Regions from separate parts of the Homo sapiens genome. Here region 1 is linked to region 2. Evidence: promoter capture Hi-C in human tissues and cell types (Jung and others, 2019). All regions are on one chromosome and are shown on one strand. Each heading gives the region's core, a stretch centred on a gene start or on the middle of the fragment in contact. The rest is flanking DNA. Distances are from core to core; before and after follow the strand shown. Region 1 overlaps L3HYPDH (trans-L-3-hydroxyproline dehydratase). Region 2 holds the start of RTN1 (reticulon 1).

The links. Contacts are between HindIII fragments. The study calls those that stand out against the background at their distance.
Region 1: a contact is called between a fragment that was not itself captured here and the fragment with the promoter of RTN1 in region 2, in 1 of the 25 tissues and cell types used here (hippocampus).

What each region holds. Positions count from the first base shown.
Region 1 is chr14:59,476,182-59,481,432 of GRCh38, reverse strand. It overlaps L3HYPDH (trans-L-3-hydroxyproline dehydratase), which reads left to right. Exons shown (of 5, transcript NM_144581.2): 2 at 2,082-2,251; 3 at 5,219-5,251. Among named protein-coding and RNA genes, the nearest start is that of L3HYPDH, 5.6 kb to the left of the region's middle. RefSeq lists an enhancer at 466-565. The HindIII fragment of the contact is 4,181 bases long and covers 1,850-5,251 here.
Region 2 is chr14:59,869,300-59,874,060 of GRCh38, reverse strand. It overlaps RTN1 (reticulon 1), which reads left to right and starts at 3,285. Exons shown (of 9, transcript NM_021136.3): 1 at 3,285-3,671. The coding sequence starts at 3,431. RefSeq lists a silencer at 3,277-3,376. The HindIII fragment of the contact is 4,177 bases long and covers 2,119-4,761 here.

The sequences.
Region 1 (5,251 bases), core at 2,691-5,190, 390 kb after region 2:
TGCCACTTATTTAGTGGGTAAACCAGGGAATAATGTAAAGATAGTAAGTAAAACAGTACCTACCTCTCAGGGCTGTAGTAATTAAGGCACTAATGTAATGAATTAAGGGGCTAGTGTATGTAAAGACCTGCCACATAGGAAGTACTCATGGGTGAAATAAATATCTTAATTTTTAATGTTAGTAATTTAGTGATTAAAAAATGAAATAGTCACAGATAATTGGTGGACAAGAGTAACTTTAAAGGAAATTTGGTCCATTTTAAAGAAAAGGAAACTGAAACTCAGTGAGGTGTAGCACCCTACCCAACTGCCCACCCTAAGAAAACCAGACCCAAGATTCTAGAAAGGTTGGGCCAGGGAAATGATTGTAGGCTCAGGGATGACTTCTCCTGAACCAGCTTCCCAATTTCATCCTGGTCCCGGGATTGGTGGCCAATGCCCCATTTAGTTGTTACAATCAAGGGAAGAGGGCAGGCCGACTGAACCCTGGGACCGTCACCTGTGTCTCCTGGTAAGTGCTGATCTTCACCCTCACTTTAGCTTTCCACCTTCCAGCAGTCCCTCATTTCTATCAACTTGCCCATTCTCTTTTCATTAAACTTGCTTTTCATGTTGCGCCAGCATCAAGATAAAGACATTTTTTATTCAGTTTTGTTGTTACAATCCACAGCATGTTTTACTCTTTTGATTATAAACTTGCTCTGTTTTAACACATCATGGGTTAAAAGGGCTTCTGTGGACTAGTGTGGACTAATAGCATACTGATAGCCTTCTGTGGACTGATAGCATACTGATATCTTTGTATGACCTTGTATGAAAACTCAGGAACACAAGATATATTTTCTTTCCCAAAACTTAATTTCTGAAGCTGAAACTCTACTCTGTCCTTTTGGTTCACTTAGCCTCATCACTCCATGTGTTGTCCCCTTTCCTGATATGTGTGAGCAAAGGTTTCTTAAAAGTGCTGTGGCCTTGGAGAGGATGGCACTTCAGTCCTCAGCTTACACAGTTAACCAGCAAAGTGGAGCAGGAGCATTGGCTGCCCCACCCTACCTGGTCCTTGCCCTCTGCACTGCCTCCCCATCCTCTGTTTCTTCACTCCTGCTCCTGTGGTGCCCTGGGGGAAGTTAACACACGTCCTCTCTGCACTAAGGACCTTCAGCCTCCACTCTTCTCAAGGGAGAAAAAATTTATCTCTAGGAGAAATATTTCTCCCTTCAGGACACTCCTTTGCCAACAGATGTCTTTCCCCTGAGAGCTTAGGCTTCCCTAAAATAAAAACATGAAAGACAAGCTTTCTCCCCTGCCATAGGCTTCCCTAAAAGGCAGTGATCACCAAGCTAGCTTAAATTAGGGAAGAGGAAAATTTGAGAAGGGGCGAAATAAACATCACCCAGCCCCCTTTCTTTGGAAATACAGATTCAAGATTTCAAACTACTGACCTTCAGGTGAAACTTTGGGGATGTTGAGACTTAAAATGCTCAAATAAAAACCCTGGTGCAAAATGATGCTGTAGCAGTCAATGATTCTACAATGGCATTTTTCTGTGTTTGCCTGCAGGATACCTTAAGGAGATGAAAACATGTAGATAAGTGTATATAATTTATATAGAAAAATCTTTTATTAAAATTTATGTTTTGACATTACGGCTGAAGAAAATTGATTTGTAAATAGGATCCAAGACCCTCACTATTTTAAACCATCTCTCATAGTACAAGTGGGGAATAGACATTTTCCTTCTTAGTGTTCACAGGGATGCCCTTGGGTTTCCCTCTCTCGGCCTCAGGGGTGTTTCCTAGAAAAGATCCTCAGGGAAGTTAATGAATATGTCTGTATGAGTTAGGGAAAGCATGGCTTTAGTTTATAACTTCTGCAATCATCAAGTTAAAAATAGAATGATGCATCTAGCTATTATTCACTCGATGCTTATTCATTTAAAAAACGGATTTTTACTTCATTATTTTTATGATAGGAAAAGAACATCCCTCTTGAAAAATAAACATATTAAAAATCCTTTGAATTTTATTGCTAAAATACTTATTAACAAACACATCTTCTTTCCAAACACATCTTTTTTTTAGATCTCATGGTGGATGTTCCTGGACATGGAAAGGTGATGGTGGACATTGCATATGGCGGTGCATTTTATGCATTTGTTACTGCTGAAAAGTTAGGACTAGACATTTGTTCTGCAAAGACCAGGGACCTTGTGGATGCAGCGAGTGCAGTGACAGAGGCAGTGAAAGCTCAGGTCAGTAATACTCTGCCTTCATAACCAATTCCCTTCTCTGTGGCATGGAGGAAATATACATTATTATGTCTATAAAGAAAATTAAATGATGTTTAAATTATTAATAGTACTAAGAATAGGGTACTTATTAAAATCTTAGGCTCTAGAGCAAGCTTGTCCCACCCGTGGCCTGTGAGCCACATGCAGCCCAGGATGGCTTTGAATGTGGCCCAACACAAATTTTGTAAACTTTCTTAAAACATTATGAGTTTTTTTGCAATTTTTTTTTAGCTCATCAGCTCTCGTTAGTGTTAGTGTATCTTATGTGTGGCCCAAGACAATTCTTCTCCCAGTGTGGCCCAGAGAAGCCAAAAGATTGGACATTCCTGCTCTAGAGCAAAACTATCTATGAGTTCTAGCTTTACCACTGGTAACGTATATAACCTTGGGCAAGTTACGTAACCTCCATATGCCTCAGTTTTCCTGTCTGCAAAATGGAAATTAAAAAATACCTGCTTTGTAGGGTTGTGAGAATGAAATAAGTCAATACATGTAAAGGACTTAGAGTAGTGTCTGGCCAATAGTAAATGTTCAGTAAATGATAATATTATTTTTTTTGAGACAGGGTCTTGCTCTGTCACCCAGGCTGTAGTGCAGTGGTGTGATCATAGCTTACTGTAACTTCAAATTCCCAGGCTCAAAATGATGCTTCTGCCTCAGCCTCCAGAGTAACTGGGACCACAGGCATGCCCCATCACACCCAGCTAAATCTGTGTTTGTGTGAGTGTGTGTGTGTGTTTATATAGAGACAGGATGTCACTATGTTGCCCAGGATGGCCTCAAACTCCTGGCCTCAAGTGATTCTCCCAGCTCGGCCTCCCAAAGTGTTGGGATTACAGGTGTGAGCCACCACACCTAGCAGTTACTAAATTTAATAATACATACATACTAATATAGTTTATAGTTCCTTAAATGTGTAGAAATATATTTATAGAATTCTGCAAATTTTAAATGCATGTGTGTGGTCATTCTGTTAAACTTGAAAATAATAAATGTAAAATATAGTGTACAGAATAGATTTAAGCCTTTTTCTTATTTCATAGAGAACATTAATTCCTATTATTTTTTTCCTACATTGCTAAGAAGTTACTCAAATAACTACTTAAATAACTCTAGTTTTTACTTGGGAAAGCTAATTTGATAAAATCAGTTTAGATAATAATTCTAGGATATTCTTTCACTTCTAGCACGAGTGAAGCACATTTTACCTTGAAATTGGGACCTATAAATAAAACACATGTACAGTATTTGAATGTTTAGTACGTGAGAATTTAGTATGTGAGAATTTATTAGTAGTAAAAAGTAACTTGTGTAAGATAGTGTCTAATGTACGAATAATTATCATTTTCTGAAGCTTTATTTTAAAATAATTTATAACTTAAAATGAGAATATACACTGTATCAGTATTCTAAATTATTTTTCTGGTACTGCCAGTACCAATATGTGCAATTATATTATGATAGCAACTTTTGAAGCTCTGAATTTACATCAGTTTTCTGTTCCATTAAGCAGGACAGCTAATAGTCTGAGTTAACAATTTGGCACAAAATAATTTCTCCTAATTTTTCATGAATTCAAGAGAAAAAGTCATGGATATCTTAATAAAAGGTGTAATTTTGTACTTCTCATTTGAGTTTGAACTCAACAAGATGGCAAGGGGTGGACTTTGAGGGAGGAAGGATTCTGAGAAAAATGAGGACAAGTTCTGTTATTGATGTATCAGACAGTACAATTAATTACTCTGTGAACTGTTGACTATTCACACTGCTGAAGCAGATTTAGGAAAAGGCCATGGGGATGGAGAGTTAAAGTTAATATAAATTCATCTTAATTCATTCACTCTTTTAACAAACATTTACCACAAACATACTGTATATATGTTAGACATTCTGCTAGATCCTGGAGACTCGAAGAAAGAACAAACCCCACCTTTGAGGAGCTAGCTCCAGTTGGGGAAGCGAGCATACCTGTGAACAGTGTTATGTTGGAATGTGCTATAGTGGAGGTGGGGCGTATCACTTTAAGAGGATGGAGAACAAAGATTCAATCTGCAGGCCGCTTTAACTTGGTTTCAGATGGACTCTTTGGATGTTAAGAACCCAAAGCTGTTCCATTGCTTTAAATGACATGTAACTGGAAGTAGAAAGTACTAATTGTAAGCATATACAAGGGAAGTCAGATTATAGCAATCTCAGTCATACTGTAAATGTTTGCAGAAATCCAGGAAAAGTTAAAGAACTAGACTTCCAAGAACAAGTAGCTTTGCATATTTGGGCCTGAATCTACCATTGAGTGACTTAGCTACCCTGCCAGTGCCTGCTTCTTTGTGTGCATATCTGCTGCTTTTTGATGAATCAACTGACTTCATCGTCTACAATAAATCTTTTTTTCCTCCAATTGTTTCTCTTGCCTAATAGTTTCTGCATTCTTACAGAATGTTATATCCTCTCACAGCCTTTGTCTCTATCATTGGTGTTAACTTCAGCTCTAGATACTCAGAGCCTGATTTTCCCACATTATCCTCCTTAAGCTCCTGAGAATAAGACTATGATTGCCTTAGCTCATCCTGTTTGAGCAGCCATCGCCAGCCTGTGGATTGACCATCCTGGGGTCAGTGCTGCAAAGACTATGTGTATTTGGGGTGGGAGGGGTGTATAAAATAGGACTGCTTTTTTAGCAAAGGCTATATGCAGGACAGCTTCCTTAGAAGGGACTCAAAGTATGATAAGAATTATAAATTGCAGTAAAACTATGTTTCTTCATCTAGACAAAGACATAATTTCTAGCAATTAGTATACGTTGCCCAAAAAGGTATTTTAAAAATGATAAGGATTAAAAAGTTATGTCTAAGAATGACCCATCTGCATTATTTATAAATTTGAATCAAAATATTTATTTTGCATGTGATCTTTTTTTGTTACTTGCAGTTTAAAATTAATCATCCTGATAGTGAAGACCTT
Region 2 (4,761 bases), core at 2,036-4,535:
AAAGAAAATGTGGTACATATACACAATGGACTATTATTCAGTCATAAAAAAGAATGAGATCCTGTCATTTGCACAACATGGATGGAACTGGAGGACATCTGTTAAGTGATATAAGCCAAGCACAGAAAGACAAACTTCTTATGTTCTCACTTATGTGTGGTAAATTAAAATTAAAACAGTTGAATTCATGGAGATAGAGAGTAGAACGGTTTCCCAGAGGCCAAGAAGTGTAGTGCTGGGAGGCTGGCAGGGGCCTGAGGGGCATGGAGGTGGGACAGTTAATGGTAGATATAAAAATATAGTTAGATACGAGTGAATAAGATCTAGTATTCACTGGCACAATGGGGCACCTACAGTCAACAATAATTTATTTTATATTTCAAAACAACAAAAAGATTATAATCGGATTGTTTGTAACACAAAGAAAGGATAAAAGCTTGAGGTGATGGATACCTTATTTACCATGATATGATTATTATTCATTGTATGCCTGTATTAAAATATCTCATATACCCCATAAATATATACACCTACTATGTACCCACCCACAAAAATTTTAAAAAAAATCTCCAGGTTACAGTTGAGGAACCTGGGTTGTAGAGATGTTAGGTAACTTTAATATTGAGGCTGGAAAGAATTTCATCTTGGTTAAAGCTTGTTACTTGTGGCGCTCTTCCTGCATGTCCCCACACCGTGTTTCCCCATGATATATGGTTTGGACTAAGTTAAGAAGCTAGTGCTAAATAAATGCTCCTCATTTCTTCTTTTCAAATGATGAACAAAACTTCTTTTCCAAAAAACAAAAGCTGAAAACAAAACGTGACAGTTCTTTTGTCTCAACTCTTCTTGCTAAGAACCTTTTAAAAGTGACAATCCTATTTTCTCTGTGTCTGAAAAGCATTTTAGAGTAATTCGTAACTTAGAGCAACTATGTAAGCCCCAGAATCCCATTGCCGACTGTGTGTTTTGCCCATAAATCTTCAAATTAGTCAAGCTTTGTCAGTTCAGAGCGGTGCAAAATAAATAATATTAATAAACATGAATCATTTCAAGTCATAGCATAAACCTGAAAATTTCTTCCCCCAAATAGATAATTTTTATACATCCAAAGGTGGAGTCTAATAAGGAAAGTTAGTAATGAAAATTGCTAACACTGAAATCTTGTGCTCATCTCTTTTCAGCAGTGTAAAATAGAATACTTTATCAAAATGGAACTGTCAATAATGTTCAATTTCCTTTAACAACTACACTCTAAATAGATTTAACTGGCTATTTCCTTCACACATTCTCAATGAGAGTATTGATTAGTATGAAAGAAATTGACAAATAATTAGAATCATATCCCCAAACTTCCTATCTATTAATCATAAGGAAACACAGAGGCTTGCTTAGGTCTCCCAGTTTTTTAATGATGACTTTCATTCATGTTTCTCAGAGAAACAAAAGAATATACTTCATATTATTTTGTATGTAACTCCTTTGCATAGCAATTCTCAAATATTAGTATTCATCAATAACCACTTTAAGGTTATATCATTAGAATTGTCTATGTTCTTGTCTTGTTATCAGTAATAAAACCATGAGAAATTCCCATCTAGTATTTCTGATGCTTTAGGGAATACTAAGTAATAGATTTGAAAAAACTTACAAGTGCCCTCTAATTACAAGACAGGATTAAGCTCCATGGAAATACAGCAGTGGAATAAGCTTTTCAACTTAACGGTTTTTTAAATACACTCTTGTTTTCCCATGGAAAGATGTTTAAAAATCATTATGATTCATGATAACCAATTATTTTGTTGTTTTTGGATGAGATTATTTTTATAGATTTATTGAGTTATAACTGACAACACATTAAATTGTTCATATTTACAGTAAACAATAAGTTTTGACATATGTTTGCACCTGTGAAGCTATAACCACAATCTAGATAGTGAATATTTCCATCATGAGACATAATTTTGAGTATGTCAAAAATGTAAAATTTTGGTGACCATCAGATTTCCAGGGATATCTGGCTTCAGGAGGCCATATTTATTGTTTAGTGAATGATTTTTCTCTAATTTATTGTCATCTTTTGAACATTAGTGCACTAGCAGAACAAAAGATTAGGCAGACTCTGGGCTTTTTCATTTTAGCATTATTGAGGAGCACCTGAATGGTCCTGAAGTTGGCCTTTGAATATACCAATGGACAGGTATGAAATCCTCAAGATGCGCATGGTGGCCAAGAGTCCCACAGTCTCACAGTGTGTGCGGTACCGTCTGCGCCCACCTTTCCTAGAGAAGAAACAGCAGAAAAACCTATTCCTTCACCCTGTGTGTTGTGGTGAATCTTAGTTTTTAAAGGCACATTATTTTATTATATAAACAACTTGGGAACCAATAAAACACAAGACATTTGAAAAGATGGGTCTTCGTATGGGCACAACATATGATAAGGCAAGTCACTTTCCTCCTCTGAGTTTGGGTTTATTTGCTGACTATCTTCCATTTTATCACAGTGAACTGTAAAGAAAAAGATGCAAGCTTCATGGAATGTCCAAATTCTGAAATACAACGGACTGCACAGACAGCTTATGATTAGGATGGCCTTGGCTCAGTGTTTCTGAAAGCAAATGTACAGCTTTTGTCCTTGCCTATTGACACCCTGTTTGCCCTCAGGGCTGGTCAGGGTGAGATCTGTTAAGCTTTTTTTGGAGGCTGTCCTGATAACTCATTTCTTTACTCCACTATTTTCAGGCCCATTCTGGAAACGCAGGATTTAACCGCGGGGTTGCAGCTTCCCTGGTCTCCATCTGCCATCAGAACCCATCTCCACCCCTTCCCCGTTCAGACCTGTGTCCCCTCCACAACTCATACTGGTCACTCTCAGAACTGTGGCCCTGAGTTCTCTAGCTTTCCCTCTTTGCCTCGGGACCCAGGACACCAGTCGGGGCTTAACTTTCTCAGTTGGGAAGGCGACGCTGCTGGTGGCTGCTGCTACTTGCTGGTTCTTCCTTTTTTTTCCTCCCCAAACGAGAGGAAGATTCGAGTGGATTTGGCACATCCCCTAACCGGGGCCTGCCATTTGCAGGTTGGGGGCTGACGTGCCCAGGAGGACCCGGACCAAGCAGGCCATTTTCACCTGCGTAATAACAGGATTGGGAATAGCGAAGCAGCGGCGGCAGCAGCGAGTGGAGTAGGAGGAGGAGCGCAGGCAGCGGCCGCGGCGGGGCCGGAGGAAGAGGAGGGGGGAGAAGGAGGAGCTGAAGCGGGAAGAGCGGCAGGCAGCGGCTCGGCGGAGTTGCAGCAGAGGCGGCGGCGACGCTGAGACACCGCAGCTTCCCTGAGCGCCGAGTCCCTCCGGGGACAGCAGCAGGGAGCGCCCGCGCAGCCACCGAGCCTCTGCCCAGCCAAGCCGCCGTCGCCGCGCCGGGGGACCGCCAGCCATGGCCGCGCCGGGGGATCCGCAGGACGAGCTGCTGCCGCTGGCCGGCCCCGGGTCCCAGTGGCTCAGGCACCGGGGGGAGGGGGAGAACGAAGCGGTGACGCCGAAAGGGGCCACGCCGGCGCCGCAGGCTGGGGAGCCCAGCCCGGGGTTGGGCGCCAGGGCCCGGGAAGCGGCGTCGCGGGAAGCCGGCTCGGGCCCCGCCCGGCAGTCGCCCGTTGCCATGGAAACTGCATCCACAGGTAAGGCGGGCGCCGCTGCCCCTCAAATGGCGTCGGGGACCAGGGCCCCCCAGTCAGTCCCCTTCTGCGCGGCTCTCCTGGGCACCTGCCTCGCGCTTTCTGCCTTGAGCGCCGACCCCACCCCCGCGTCGCCACGGGCGACTGGGAATATTCGCGGGCTGGTAGAAAACAACAATTTTATTTTTCCCAAAGGCTCAGAAAAAGTCAAGATGCTTTTGATCCTTTTATTTCATTATCATGATTATTTCCGCTTTAAAAATTGTTCTCATAGGCAAACAGCAGCATTCTGGCTGCTGGCGAGTCTGGGTACAAGTTTCTCCCTCCTGCCAGGAGGCTCCGAGCTGTAGGGCCCGTTTGACAGGTTGTGGGGATTTTGGGGGGCGTGTTTGCGCGCAGTGTGCGCGCCGGCTACAGGAGATGCTGACAACCGAGCGGCGGGCAGGCCCGCGGCCCCTGGACCCGGCTCTGTCCAGGGCAGAGATGTGGCTGTAACTGCCCCTTACCCTTGCCCTCCACGAATCGCCACCACACCTTACTCCCCCCACATCCCTCCGCCTTTTCTCCCGCAGAAAACAAATCCCAGGGAGTTTGTCCCTAATTCGGGAGGCACAGCTTTGCAAGAGGGTTGGGTGCTGTGGCTGCCCCCGCCCAAAACCTGTATTTCGCCGCTGCCCGGATGGCCCCACCTTGCAGGGAGCATTGAAACTTCAAGTCCTAAGTGCGGCGGGCCTGGCTGTGGGTTGGAGGGCTTGGGTGGTGGTGAGTGGACGTGGTACAGTTTACCAGCAGTCTAAGCGCCCCCCCCCCCCCACCCCGGAAATTGCCCTGGGTTTGGCCATTCTTCGCCTGACGCCCTATTCAAAGTCTGAGCGCGCCAGTGTCCAGCGGGAGCCCAGGCCCCTGGCGCATCCTGGTCAAAGGATCCAGGAAGCGCGCTTTGAGGCTGCCGGCCTGGTTAACGCTGTTTCCAGGGAGAGGAAAGGGGATGCTGTGTGGTGCTCTTTCCTGAGAAAGCTTTGCTATGGTGGAGTGGGAGTTGTGTAGTTTTGGCAATGTAGAGCTAGAAGGCCTGGGGTGGGGGGTGCTCCCA